Linked DNA regions of Homo sapiens: all the other regions are linked to region 1. Evidence: promoter capture Hi-C in human tissues and cell types (Jung and others, 2019). All regions are on one chromosome and are shown on one strand. Each heading gives the region's core, a stretch centred on a gene start or on the middle of the fragment in contact. The rest is flanking DNA. Distances are from core to core; before and after follow the strand shown.

Evidence for each region. The method cuts DNA at HindIII sites, captures the fragments that hold promoters and counts their contacts. A contact is called where the count stands out against the background at its distance.
Region 2: a contact is called between a fragment that was not itself captured here and the fragment with the promoter of HGF in region 1, in 2 of the 25 tissues and cell types used here (IMR-90 fibroblasts and lymphoblastoid cells).
Region 3: a fragment that was not itself captured here is called in contact with the fragment with the promoter of HGF in region 1 in 2 of the 25 tissues and cell types used here (bladder and small bowel).
Region 4: a contact is called between a fragment that was not itself captured here and the fragment with the promoter of HGF in region 1, in 3 of the 25 tissues and cell types used here (dorsolateral prefrontal cortex, hippocampus and lymphoblastoid cells).

The regions. Positions count from the first base shown.
Region 1 is chr7:81,767,981-81,771,738 of GRCh38, forward strand. HGF (hepatocyte growth factor) reads right to left here and starts at 2,067. Exons shown (of 18, transcript NM_000601.6): 1 at 1,904-2,067. The coding sequence starts at 1,991. The HindIII fragment of the contact is 8,838 bases long and covers 1-3,758 here.
Region 2 is chr7:81,881,463-81,885,220 of GRCh38, forward strand. No RefSeq gene overlaps it. Among named protein-coding and RNA genes, the nearest start is that of HGF, 110 kb to the left of the region's middle. The HindIII fragment of the contact is 4,216 bases long and covers 1-3,758 here.
Region 3 is chr7:81,693,891-81,697,648 of GRCh38, forward strand. No RefSeq gene overlaps it. Among named protein-coding and RNA genes, the nearest start is that of HGF, 74 kb to the right of the region's middle. The HindIII fragment of the contact is 5,057 bases long and covers 1-3,758 here.
Region 4 is chr7:81,834,181-81,837,938 of GRCh38, forward strand. No RefSeq gene overlaps it. Among named protein-coding and RNA genes, the nearest start is that of HGF, 66 kb to the left of the region's middle. The HindIII fragment of the contact is 3,334 bases long and covers 160-3,493 here.

The DNA of each region.
Region 1 (3,758 bases), core at 817-3,316:
CAATTTTAGAATTATCCACTTCAGGAATTATTCACAGCATATTTGTAATTCCCAACTGGACTCTCCTTGCCTGCCAGCACTCTTGGGCTGCATTCTGCCTGTACTCAGGAAACACAGTCATTTCTACATTAGGCAAAGTGAAATATAATTACAAATGTATGTCTCCTGCCAAAAGTTCATAATGCATGCCGAAAACAAATAGACACTGCCTACGGTTGATCTACTGTTTGGGTTTTCCACACTGCGTTCCCCTTGCGTTAGCACAGATGAATTCAGGTAACCAGATTCTACTTAAGAACAGTGACATTTTAATCTTTAAAAATGAAAACCCTCAAAATATTAGCCATTATTTCAATTTAAGCTCAAAATCCCCTAAACCAGCAGTCATCTGTGAAGCATTTTTTTCTTCTTCTTCTTGAGATGGAGTCTTGCTCCGTTCCCCAGGCTGAAGTGCGGTGACACAATCTCGGCTCACTGCAACCCCCACCTCCCAGGTTCAAGAGAGTCTCCTGCCTCAGCCTCCCAAGTAGGTGGGACTACAGGTGCCTGCCACCACGCCTGGCTAATTTTTTGTATTTTTAGTAGAGACAGGGTTTCACCTTGTTAGCTAGGATGGTCTCAATCTCCTGACCTCGTGATCTGCCCGCCTCGGCCTCCCAAAGTGCTGGGATTACAGGCGTGAGCCACCGCACCCGACCCTGTGAAGCGATTTTAACATGACACATGTCAAGCATGATAACCTGCTTGATTTGAACTCACTGCTTTTTCACTTCTTCAGAAATCTTACCTAAATGCTTTCAGAGTGACCCTTTCCAAACAGTGTCATTTTCCAAACGGGCCACTTCACAAAATAAAAGAAAACCAGGTGGGTTGAATGATTTTCCTTTGCATTTAGAAAATTCTTGAGTTTTTTAACCCTTGTACCATATCAAAAACTAGATCAAAGGTCTGATAAATGTCATATTTACCATCTCAAAAGATACAGCCAGTTCTCTTTTTTATATTGTAAAAAGGCCATGTCTCCATCTGGGCATTTGTTCCCACTCTTTTATTCCCCTGCGCCTACCCTTGATATTCACTGCCTTCTCCCGTTGGCACCTCAGCCTCTACAATGATACAACAAAATACAGATGTTTCCTCTTGCCCTGATAACAAGAGAAACTTCCCAGAGCAGCAAACGAGATCTCTAAATCTCCAAGCAATATGAACTTTCAAGCAACTCCTCCCCAAACGGCAAATCCAAGGGAGAAAGTGGGAGACAGAGATGGGCAGTTCTGCAGCTTTAATCAAAGTCTCCGTGCACTGCAGTTTCAAAGGGCAGGCATCCGTACCCAGAAAGAATAAGATCTTTAAAAAGAGGCTTTCTCTTTCATTTTTATGATATGCAAATACTCAGAGTTTATTCTGCCTCCTCAAAATGAAAACCTGTACAAAGTCGTAATTTGGCTCCAAATGTTGACTAGGTGATGTGGAGTAGTGCATTATCATGAAAAATTGTTCTCTGGAAAAGGATGACTTCCTGCCGGACTGACCATCACTCTTGCCTCTTCAGACCAGACCCTCTCTTTAGCTTTAAACTTGTCCAAAGCAGCCAAGTTCAGCCAGTATTAGCACTTCCTCCCTATCTCATAATCCACAACTATTAGGCTAAGTGGGACGGGGCTTGGGTTGGAGGTGGAGGGGAGTTGAGGGAAAGTTAATTATCATTTTAAATGCTATTCAAACAACAACAAAAAAGAATGTCAAAAAAAGCATAATGAGAGCTTTTAGAAACCTATACTACATACTGAGTTCAGAAAGGATGCTGGGAATAGGGTAAAAAGAGGGTGTTAAAAGGAATAGGGAAGGTTAGCAGGAGAGTTAAATACTAATACTAATAATGAAGAAGAAGAAGGGAACTAACCTGCATAGGGGATGGCGATGGGGAGCAGGAGGAGATGCAGGAGGACATGCTGCAGCAGCAGGGCTGGCAGGAGTTTGGTCACCCACATGGTGCTGCTGGACGGGCTGGCGGATCCCTCTGGAGGAGATGCCTGGGTGAAAGAATCCTGTTCGGAGTCAGTGCCTAAAAGAGCCAGTCGGCTCTGAGCTGCTTTTTATTGCGATGAGCTAAGTTTGTTGTGTGATTAACTGGAAAGATCTAGGTCTGAACTCCCTCTTACGGTAAGAAACTGTTTAACAACAGCCCTTTACTCTCTTCCAGCCCCCTCCTTTCCTCACTCGCCCCCCCTTCAACAGCACCAAACAGATCCCTGCAACCCCCCCCATTCCCCGCCTCCCCCCAACCCCACGCTTAGGAAAGAAACTTACAAAGAAAAGGTCACCTGGCCTGAGGCCAGCTTCAATTTGGAAGCTGGAGCTCCAGATCCCAGTGGCTCCTATCCGAGTAAGGAAGGGAGGAGCAAGGCTGAGCCCAATGGCTAAATCAAGGCACAGGCAGGGGACCAATTCGCTCAATTTAAACAGGAAAATACATGTGTTTATATATCTATTTGGGAAAAGAGGAAGGGGAAGCAGCATAAGAAGAAAGCGAAGAGCTGTCTTTCAGCCAAATGTGCCCCAGCTCCTAATCTGTCTAGTTTTCCTGCTAGAGCAACTGAGGGATTCAAAACACTGACACAGGTTCTCTAGGGGTTTAGAGACCTGGGAGAGGTGGGAGCGGGGCCAGGGAGGAGAGCCCAGGCACGTCCAGCCCAGGTAGAAAGAGGTTAGTTAAGAAAAGGGTGTGGTATTGTGGGGCCAAAATAAGCAAGCAAAACAAAAGCACGCAGATTGTCAGATGAAAAAATTGCCCCTGCCCCATGGGCTCAGAGCAGGCAGCTTTTTTTTTTTTTTTTTTTTTTTTTTTTTTTCACAAACTGCCAAACTCACGAAATACCACACATTTACCCAAAGTATACAAAATAAACTTGTCTGATCTGACTTTTTAAGAGAAAGTCCAAGAAACAGTCATTGTCCATAGCCTGTCCCTGACAGGTAAATATGCCATGTGGACTTGTACAGGCACACACGTGCACACAACACATTCACACATGTTGGTGTGTATGTACGTATACACTGGTTAGGACTGACTTTCACCGGAAATCCCTCAAGCTGTTTGAATTCGTGAGTACTGAATATGCCTCTCTTTTCCAGCTTCATCTGCCTGTACACGACAGCCAGCTTCCCAAAGTGTAAGTGGAAAGATGAGGAGCTTGTATGGGCATGGGGGGACTCCTAGGTATCAAATCCTTGTGAGATCATTGCCCAGACCCCTCACTTGATTCAGAGAATTTGTCTTTGCACCCAGAGGTGGATGCTCTGGTAACTTTAAGCAAGAGCCTGCTTTATTTCTAATGGATGCTGAGGGATACTTGCCCCTGTATCTCTCTGAGATGGATATTAGTAGAGAACAGTGCCCCTGTCCACAGAGGAAAAGAAAGCAGGCCAAATGTGGGAATGACTAGAGCGGTGGGTAGCTGTACAGAAGTGATTGTGGGGCTGAATTAAACTCATCCACAGAACAGCCTTCCCTCCACATACCACCTTCATTTGTCCTCCAGCTCCCTTACCCCCACTTTCAGGGAAAAACAACCTGCCTGATAAGTCCCTGAGGTTGTGGGATATCTAGAGAAGCTAGGGATTAAGAGAATTCCTTTTGAGGGATCTATTTTATATGACCCGTTTCTATTGCTAATCCTTCTCTTTTATCATTTTCTCCTTACTTAAAAATCATTTGTCAGCCTCTGTCTGGTGTCCCCAGGATCCATTTTACTTTC
Region 2 (3,758 bases), core at 692-3,191, 110 kb after region 1:
CCAGCAGCATATCAAAAACCTTACCTACCACGATCAAGTTGGCTTCATCCCTGGGATGCAAGGCTGGTTCAACATACACAGATCAATAAACATAATCCATCACATAAACAGAACCAATGACAAAAACCACATGATTATCTCAATAGATGCAGAAAAGGCCCTTGATAAAATGCAACAGGGCTTCATGTTAAAAACTTAATAAACTAGGTATTCATGGAGCATATCTCCAAATAATAACTATGACAAACCCATAGCCAATATCATACTGAATGGGCAAGAGCTGACAGCATTCCCTTTGGAAATTGGCACAAAACAAGGATGCCTTCTCTCACCACTCCTATTAAACATAGTATTGGAAGTTCAGGCCAGGGCAATCAGGCAAGAGAAAGAAATAGAGGGTATTCAAATAGGAAGAGAGGAAGTCAAGTTGTCTCTGTTTGCAGATGACATGATTTTCTATTTAGAAAACCCTATCATCTCAGCCTAAAAACTTCTTGAACTGATAAGAAACTTCAGCAAAGTCTCAAGATACAGTTGAATTATCAGTGCCTGGTATATAGTACACACTTAATAAGTATTATTCTTATTCTAAGTTATATAAGTTAGAAAGTCTCACTTTACACATGATGATATCAATTTCACCAGCCAAGTCAAAGATGAACAAATGTGTTTTCAAGTGTGTATAAAATATGCGGTTATGTTTTAAATGTTCTCTTCAGCTCTAAAAAATTCTTTCTTGTGGAATTTTTAGGCCTTGAACAGTTCTAGAATATTACAATGTGCTGTCCTCATTTTACTTTCACCCCGGGTTGAGAGGAAATTATTACTCCTTTATCTTAGCCACAGATATTTCCTGGCCTTTGGTCATTTTAGGAATTCTCTATTTTCACAACTCTCACAACAGCTGTTTTTAACAATCTAAGTCTCACACCACAGCCTAAAAACAAACAAAAAAAATCAAGTACAAATTTATCACTAAAACAATTTACATTATTGACAACCCTAAATTTATTAAAATGAAAGAAAGACATCAATGTTACTGAAGACAGCCACAAAGATGGTACTAATTTTAGTCTAAGCATTTGGAAAGATTTTTTTTCTTTAGTTCTGCAGATGCATGGTCAACAGAAGCAGAAAACTCGTTTGTATTTTCCTGTTTTATCTATAGCTTTATAAAGAGAGGAATTCCCATTTTGTTGCCACCATTCAATTTCATGTGGTCAGAGTTGTCAACACGAAAGTTCCCATTGTAATGTTCGTTGTCCTGGTACTAGTTTACCTACAGTTTTGTTCACTCAGAACACCAACTTGCTAGTCTTGCAGAAATAGTTTTTCCAGCACAAAATATAGTCACCTCTGTCTCTGAGAAGTTTGACTTGACCATGCTTTCTTTATCTGCTCTTAGGAAAATCTCTAGAGAGTTGGCTTATTATGATATGGCCCTTTAGATTTCTTGTGTAATTTTTTATTTTTTAAATAAACTTTTTCTTTTCTTTTTTTTTTTTTTTTTGAGATGGAGTTTCGCTCTTGTTGCCCAGGCTGGAGTGCAACGGCATGATCTCAGCTCACTGCAACCTCTGCCTCACAGGTCCAAGCAATTCTCCTGCCTCAGACTCCCAAGTAGCTGAGATTACAGGTGCCCACCACCACACCCAACTAATTTTTTTGTATGTTTTTTTCAGTAGAGATGGGGTTTCACCATGTCAGCCAGGCTAGTCTCGAACTCCTGAGCTCAGGTGATCCACCCTCATCGGCCTCCCAAAGTGCTGGGATTACAGGCGTGAGCCACGACACCTGGTTATGAACTTTTTCTTCCTCATGAGTAGTTCATAGCAGAGTTTAAATATGCTTGCCCATGTAGTATTTAACATCGTATATTGTGATATTTCTCAGGTTTTCCTTTCGTGTGACTTTTTTCAAAAAAATTTTTTTTTCTTTATGTGGTAGTTTATACTAAATTTTCCACAGATTCTTTTGAGTGTCTTTTCACTGTCATAACATGGGCTACTAAAGCCAGTCTGGAGAGTAGGTGAGCCGATACGAAACATAGCATCATTGCTTCTGAAAAGTAAATATAGTGCTGTAAAGAAAGCTCTAGTCAAATTAGCAAATATTTTCCCAATAATTAATTTATTCCTGCGTCACCAACGAGAAAATTGAGGTATAGAAATGCTTTTTATGGTGTTTTTTGTTTGTTTGTTTTTGAGACAGGCTGGAGTGCAGTGGCACAATCTCAGCTCACTGCAACCTCCGCCTCCCAGGTTCAAGCGATTCTCCTGCCTCAGCCTCTCAAGTAGCTGGGACCACAGGCGCCCACCACCATGCCTGGCTAATTCCTGTACTTTTATCAGAGACAGGGTTTCACCATATTGGCCAGGCTGGTCTCAAACTCCTGACCCTTGTGATCCTCCAGCCCCGGCCTCCCAAAGTGATGTGATTACAGGCGTGAGCCACTGCGCCTAACCAAGGTATAGAAATGTTAAGAAATGAGTCTAAACTTATTCAAAAAGAAAGTGTAGCACCATGACCTACTGCCAGGTCTTATCGACTTTGTAAGCTTTTTCTAGTTAACAACTCCCATCAACTATTTCAAGACTATTTTGCTTTCTCATATCTGATCCTATGTCTCTGGTAGATGTTAATTGATCGTAGCACCCTTTCCAGCTGAATCTGAACTTAACCTCTCAATCTTTCTCAGAAGAAATGAGTACAGAGACACTAGCAATTGGCTAGAGTTAGCACCGAAACAGAAAGCTAGTTTTTAATCACAACATTAGAATGCATTCCCTCGCTGAAATGATTTATGTCTTTATTTACCTGTTTGCAAAATGGGAGTACTGGACTAGAAAATCTCTAACATTTTTGCCACACTACAATTTTGTGAAGATCCCAAATCTGTATATTACCAGAAAATATATAATTTAGAAATTCCTAAGTATTTTCCATAGAAAATATATTTGAATTACAGTATGTTTACGATATGAAAGTAGAATTACCCATGAACTTGCATTCATTTTATAACTTTCAAATATTATTCCACAGGATAGAAATTTCTCATGCTTGATCACAGCCCAAAGATAATTATGTCCTGGAAAACACACCGTATCTTTATTCATCTAGAAGTCCTGTCCCGCATGTGAAGAAATAGGGGAAAAAATGAAGAGCCACACACAGTTGAAATAGACCATGCGTCTGGTCTTTACTGAGGCATATTCTCCTGAGACTAACCATTTGATATATGTTTTACAAATTGCATTTTTAATGGAGTATATGAAGTATGAGGTCACATGAAATTCTTAGGTTATTTCTTTGAAGTCTGATGTTTTACAAATAATGCCAATACTGATTTAGGAATCTTTCAAAATTACATAACTGCGGTTTAGTTTTGCTTTTTAACCTAGAGGTATAATCTTTTTTCCCTTTCAAAAGACAATAGCAAAGCTCTGCTCTGAGAAATCTCTCCCTCTCCCACTCCCTTGTTTTTTGGCCAAAATGTGCTCACATCTGTCCAGAGCTGAGGAAGTCCCAGCCACCATGTGCAGTCTTTTGCTTTCAGCCCGCGGCCCAGGAAATTACTACCTGTGTGGGCAGAACCTCAGTGCATAACTGCTAAGTTCCACAAAACTGAGGATTCAGCCAGATAAAAAAGAAAAGAAAAAAAACTAAAAACATTGTTTCTTCTACCAAGAAACCCTCTTTCTTTGAGGTTTCATAGCCCAGGTTACAAACAAAAAAGTGTAGAGTTTGCAAGGTATGTT
Region 3 (3,758 bases), core at 733-3,232, 74 kb before region 1:
TCAAACATCATGTTTTACACCTTAAATATATACAATTTTTATTTGTCAATCATACCTCAATAAGGCTGATAAAAAAGACATTACTGAGGAAGTTTAGAAGTAAAAAGAACAAGAATAAAAATGGGACATTGTGAATGTGGAAGAACTGCATTCTCTGTGCTTGTTAATTTTGGGATGACTCATTGTATTTGGTTTGTAAGTGGATTTTGGAAATACAAGTGATTGTAATTAAGAGGAAAGAGGCTAATAAAGAAGAATAATGCTTTAGATCTTTTTGTTGACCTCACTTCTAAGGACATGTAAATGCCTTCAGAAAACTTCTCCCAGCTCCCCTCAACTTCTTTTTTAATCTTTTTTTTTCCTTTTTCTTCTTTCATTTTTATTTTCTTTCATAATCTTTACGTGTCTTTCTTTTCCTTGGTGCCCTGTTTCTAGAGCTGGAAATTTAGGCAGAGGAGGGGATGTTGTAAACACTAGAAAGATTTTAAAAAACAGGCAATTTTTTTAGCTTTAGTACTGTTAAAATAGGACTACCTTCACAGTTTTGTGTAATCAATTTTGGTTCTGTATTATTGATAGGAAAGTTCCTATAGATGGTACGTATATGTCAAGAAAAATGTGCATCAACTCCTCCTGTCTGAATTTTACTCAAAGTAAGTAGAAAAGAGTAAATCATGTAAAAAAGAAGTTTGATCTGGGAAAATTTTCTGTGAGATGCTTTTGTAGAGAAAACATATTGTACATTATAAAGACATAGAAATCTCAAACCATGTAGTAATAACTGCCTCTCATTTAGAAAGTAAATTTGGAAATCAAGTTTTTCCGGACTGCATTTATCAGAACTCTAGTGTCTTAAGACGAAATGAAATATTGGCTCTGTAATTGTAAGGGGGTTCTGTAATACAGTAAATCTGAAGAATGTCCTCTACCATACTCTCTCATGGAGCTTCAAGACACATATGAGCATCTAAAGGCTCTTAACTATCCCACAGCAAAGTGGCCTGTATAAAGCATCCCAGCATCTCCAAAGCTTACTTAAGCCTTGAACATTTTGTTCTTCTCAGTATAGCTTTTAAGGATCCTGCAAAAGACCAGTTTGGTTAAAGCTTATGAAAGTCATTAAAGAAATATTTCCTTCTTTAGAAAACGTTTGTAGTTAGAGATTCTGTTCTTCTTGTTCATTCACATATTCTGCAACCTTCACTATTGGGAAGTACTGCCTGGTACCTAAACTATCTGATTGAAATGTCAATCTTATTTTTCACAAATTCTTACTTTTTTAACCAAAAGGACCTGAGCATTTCCTCTCAGAAAGACTTTTTGGACAACTGAAGAAACATATTTAATCATATTTGCACCTTCTCTTCTCTAATCTAGATATCTTTAATCACTTATTTCATTAAGTCAATTTTCCACGTGTTACATTACTCATTATTTTTAATAGGATATAAATTCTTTGTTTTACGGCACAACAATATATTTTGAGCTATTACTACATTTAGGTTTTAATTCATCTAAAAAGTCAGAAACTTGAAAACCTCACACTTTTGTAAAGCTTTAAAACTACATGAAAAATAATTAATATGAAAATCCATCTGCCTTTGGTTCACCTCATTTCCTTGCAACATGCTACGCATGTTCATTTCTCTCAGTTAAGAAAACTCATCAAATGAAAACCTCTTGTTCCTTAAGTAATGATACTGTGAAACTTCTCAATGCACAACAGATTGGATATTTGCACGTATATAATGAGTGGACTATTGTGGACTCAGGATATTTTTGCAATAATTTATCCTTTAACTTTATCCTCCAATGTTATGACATCAACCTTTCATGGAAGAATCTTTTTTCCAGATGGGAAAAAGTATTCACTAGCATAATCTAAACTCTATTAGTTTGATAAAACAATATATTTATCCATAAGCAAATTGAAATTTAATTTTTTATTTCTATTTTTAATAACCGCATTGCAAATATAAATGTATAAACTCTCTAAAGTTAATAATTTCTCTTTTCCAGCTGCATTGTCTATTGTATAAATACAATAAAATATTTTAAAATAGCCCCACTTACTAATTCAAATCTAAATAATGCAACTAAATATAAAATCTTAAAATTCTTAATCCTCATTGAGAGTTGCATAATTTTTACAAAAATCCCAAATGTCTTGTTAACATTGATAAGGCTTCAAGAAGAGGGTGAATTATAGAATATTAATAATTATAAAATGTATATTGGATACCATAATATGTGAAGCACTGTACAAAATAGTGTGCAAATATTACTAATATGACAATGCTAAATGTCTTCAAGGAGCTCAAACTCACTGGAGGTGATTGCACATTGAAACAAAGCAGAATAGCTGGGCGTGGTGGCTCATGCCTGTAATCTCAGCACTTTGGGAGGACAAGGTGGGTAGATCACAAGGTCAGGAGTTCAAGACCAGCCTGGCCAAGATGGTGAAACACCGTCTCTACTAAAAATGCAAAAATTAGCCGGGCATGGCGGCATGCATCTGTAATCCCAGCTACTCAGGTAGTTGATGAAGGAATTGCCTAAACCCAGGAAGTGGAGGTTGCAGTGAGCCGAGATCATGCCACTGCACTCCAGCCTGGGCAACAGAGCGAGACTCCATCTCAAAAAAAAAAAAAATTAAAAAAACAAAGCAGAATAAATCGAAACTGATCTAATTCAGTCATACACACACTATTGTAACAAATGAAAAGAAAGCATCAACAATTCACAATTGTCAAATCTTGGAAACAACCCAAATGCCCATCAATGAGTAGATGAAGAAACTGTGATGTGTGTATGTATATAGATGGAATACTATATCTATACATATGGTATACATATATATGGTGAGAGAGATATATATGTGTGTATATGTATATATTTATATATACATATATAGATATGTATATATGAATGATGGAATACTACACAGCCATAAAAAGGAATGAATGAACAGCATTTGCAGTGACCTGGGTGAATTTGGAGACTATTATTCTAAGTGAAGTAGCTCAGGAATGGAAAATCAAACATCGTATGTTCTCACCAATATGTGGATGCTAAGCTATGAGGACGCAAAGGCATAAGAATGATGCAATGGACTTTGGGGGCTTGGGGGGAAGAGTGGGAGGGTGGTGAGGGATAAAAGACTATAAATATGGTGCAGTGTATACTGCTCAGGTGATGAGTGCACCAAAATTTTGCAAATCACCACTAAAGAACTTACTCATTTAACCAAATACCACCTGTACCCCAATAACTTGTGGGAAAAAATAATAATAAAATAATAAAACATTTATATATATATATATATATATATATATATATATAAGAAAGCGTAAGCAGCCACTGCGGCAAGCTGAGGAAATGATGATTTTTTGGATAGGGATGTTGAGGATGGAATCACATAGGAAACCCAGTGACATATGAAGGTTTTTAAATGTTGAAGAAAAGCATGATGTTCATGGGGACTGTTTGAACACAGACATGAAGTTTAAATATGAAGACATGTTCAAAAATGATGAAAATAAAATAATGTTAAGTAGTATTTGAGTGGGATGAGGGTCTGAAGTTGGCTTGGAGTTAGATTGTATGTCAGATTGATAAGTTTTTTGTTTTCATTGGTGCTTTTTTGATGTTATTATTTACTTTTAAAATCCATAAATAAACATATAACCTATGATCCCATACTTCTTTTGAATTATATAAAATAAAATTAAGTTTCTTTCCTTTGCCAGGTATTTTCT
Region 4 (3,758 bases), core at 577-3,076, 66 kb after region 1:
AGTAAAATTCTCAAGGCTGAAGCCCTGCATGCCACACAGCTGGAATTCCTTGAAAACCACCTGCAGACTCAACATTTCCCTACATCCTAGTGGGATACTTGGAGCTCTAGCTAACTGTGAGACTAAACATAAGTCACCCCTGCAATGACCCACAGCTATGTTCTAATAACAGCTTTTACCTTATTCTCACTTGAATCTTTATTCTGATGATTTGATCTTTGCCTATTTATTAATACCTATGCAGAAGCTCCTGCTTTATATTTTGCCATATCAGTACATGTGCCTGGTCCCTACACCCTAGCAGAGTAACTGATACTGTTACTGGCTTTAGACAGCAAGCTTGTGTCTATTTCAAAATGAATCTTATGGCTAGATTTGCCTGTTAGTCTGACATTGCCTTTTACCATTGTTTCTGTTCTATCTCTTGGGTGGATGTGCCAGCCCCTGCAAAGGACTCTCATCCCCCAAAGTCAACCCTGTATCTAGCAGACAGGGCCAGATGAAGTTCCTAGGCATTAATACTTATCTGCATGGTGCTCTGTTAAATATATCACACTTACTTTTTTGTGCAAATAGTTAAGTGATTCTTTGTACTGTAACAGTTAAAATTTGTTTTAATTATAAATAATAATATATATCAGTGGTATACTCAGTAATGTAAGTATACTGTATAACTAGTTTTATATTAGCATAGTGTTACATTCCCAAAATTTTCACAAAAGACCTTTACACGGTTCACGTTTTCCAAATGTTCTTTCCTTTCAATTACCATCAACCTCCATGCTGCTCACTTTAGCACTAAACTACAGCTGATGCTTGGAATTTTTGAACCAAGAACTTTACAAATGTTCCTACCACATTTACCGAAATTCTTCCTTTCACTTTATAAACCCCTTTCAACCTTGATTTAGTCACTCAGCATTTTACTTATGAATTCTAGTTTTAAAGCTTCTGAAATATAGATAATTATCCCCTGATTATCTACAAAGTAAAGCAAACTTGGATAGCGACTTGTGGCTCTCCTCTATAAATAATTCTCTGGGTTAATATTTTAATGTTCAAAGGTAAATTTGAATTGCGGCATTTTAAAACTCTTAGTTACAATTTATTAATCAATAAAATCAAATAGTTCAGGCAGAAATGATAAGAATCTGGTATAAGTGGTCTAACTAAATATTTGAGTTGTAGAATTCACAGAACTTGCTAACAACCCCATGCCACTCCATAGAAGGTACCAAGTTCAAATAGTCCCCTAGATAAATTTTGAAAAACATTAAACTTTTCCAAAACACACACCAGTGGATTTCAACCGGAGGTGATTGTTTGCCAAAGGACATTTGTCAATGTCTGAAAAACTTTTTTGATTGTTACAACTGGGCAAGGTGACAGGAAGTGGGGTTAGGTGTTCCTAATGGCTTCTAGTAGGTACAGGCTAGATATGCTGCTCAACATTTTGTCACACATAGGACAGCCCCTACAGCAAAAAATTATCAACCCCATAATCAAAAGTGCCAACGTTGAGAAACCCTGGCATAGAGAAAAATAATGATTAGAAAGCACATTCTTAGTTTATATTCAAAGAGAAATGAAATTCCAAAACTAAAAACTACCAAAATGGCTATAACAAAATTATGTGTAAAGCCTACTTACAATTGTCTATGCAAATGCTACAATAAAGTATGAACGATTCTAATGCTCTTACTGAAATAATAATCATGAAAAAGGTTTTATTTCATAAGCAGATGGATAATTCAACAAAAGCAATCTGATGATAATATCTCATTTTATTAAACAATAAAAACAACTAGATCTCAATACATCCCAAACAGCATTTCAAAAAAATTAATATACAATTCTAATTTAAAAATTCAATTCTCATGCCTATAATCCCAGCACTTTGGGAGGCTGAGGTGGGCAGATCACGAGGTCAAGAGATTGAGACCATCCTGGCCAACATGGTGAAAGCCTGTCTCTACTAAAAGTACAAAATTAGTTGGGCATGGTGGTGCACACCTGTTGTCCCAGCTACTCAGGAGGCTGAGGCAGGAGAATCACTTGAACCCGGGAAATGGAGGTTGCAGTGAGCCGAGATCGCGCCACTGCACTCCAGACTGGTGACAGAGCAAGACTCTGTCTCAAAAAAAATAATAAATAAATGAATAAATAAATAAATAAACAAGCAATCCTAGTCTAGTGATTGAAATAATCTTTATTAATATGGTAAAAAGCATTTGTGTATGTGTGTGTGTTTATAATTAGGGATTATACTCCATAATGTAAAGTCTATATACTTGATATAAAAACATGCACAAAATCATGTTGAATAATGAACTACTAGAGGCATTTCTGTTAAAATTAGAAATTTAAAAGTGTGAAAATTACCAGTATATTAGGTTATATTCTATAATGTAATAAGACAAGAAAATATGTATTAACATGAGTTTTATACGGAAGAGACAAAACAAGCAGTACCTACAGATAATATTATTGAATGCCTAGAAAATTCAAGAAGATAGATTCCAATGATTGAAAGAATACAAAAAAAATTATTAAAGCAATATTTTAAAAATTATAAATTTACTTAATTCAAGAAATAACCAACTTATCACAAGTTAAAATGCCTTATTTGATTCACACTGATAATCAAGATAATAAGCTTAAAATAGAGGCTATCTTTTGCTTTTGATTACCCACTCTCTCTTCCTCCCCTTCCTATGGCAACATCCCAATTTTATGGTGCAGAACTAAAGATGCCCCTCACATGCTGCTATCTAGATCTTCAGAGTTACTCTGGCCATCTATTTTTCCTAAATTCATTATTTTTCTTTGTTTATAGAGATACCCTATAAAGGTTCAATTGATTTGAAATTGTTTGTTACGGTAATTTTAGTGATTATAACCAAAGAACTAAACAAGTGAGATATGAAGGAGCAAAGGAGAGAAAATTTCAATGACAAAAACAAACTCAAACGTGAATTATTGGGTTTATATTGTGCCTGGATGGAGAGACCTAATCAGTAAAGGTGTAAGTTTTTTTTGCAAATAATGATTACAATTCCATGTTATCACAATTCCGCTATTAGGATGTGACCCTTAACTATTTAATATGGTATTTTATTTTTAAAATAAATTCCAGAAAATAGGGCAATTTTTAGAGGTATAATGCAAAGGATCTGCCTATCAGATAATAAAACAAATCAGATAAGCCCTTTTTATTGCAGGAAGAAGCCAAAATAAACAGAGATGAACAGACATAAAAAGAAATTATAGCAATAACTTCACATATAATAAAATTATAATTGAAAACCTGTAAAAAACATTCAAACAAATGAAGTTAACCCCCTCCCATGTTGCACACACACATACATACACACACACACGGACACACATACACAAATGTATTCCAGTTTGATTAAAGGTTTAGATTTACGTACGAAACCATAAAATCTTAAGAAAATTCAGGAGACTATTTTTATCTATTTTAAGCTTATGATAATAAGCTTAAAATAGATGTTATCTTTTGCTTTTGATTACCCACTCTCTCTTCCTCTCCCTCCTATGGCAACATTCCTACTTAATGTAGGGAGAGTCTGTATTTGTAAAAAGAAATCTAGGTCAGACATTAGAAAGGGAAGGACTGATAGATCTGTTAACATAGAAATATAGAAATAAAAATCCTACACTGTATGACAAAAGTCACCACTAAGAAGGTTAAAAAACATACTTGACAAATGCTACTATGTTTTACCTCATTAATA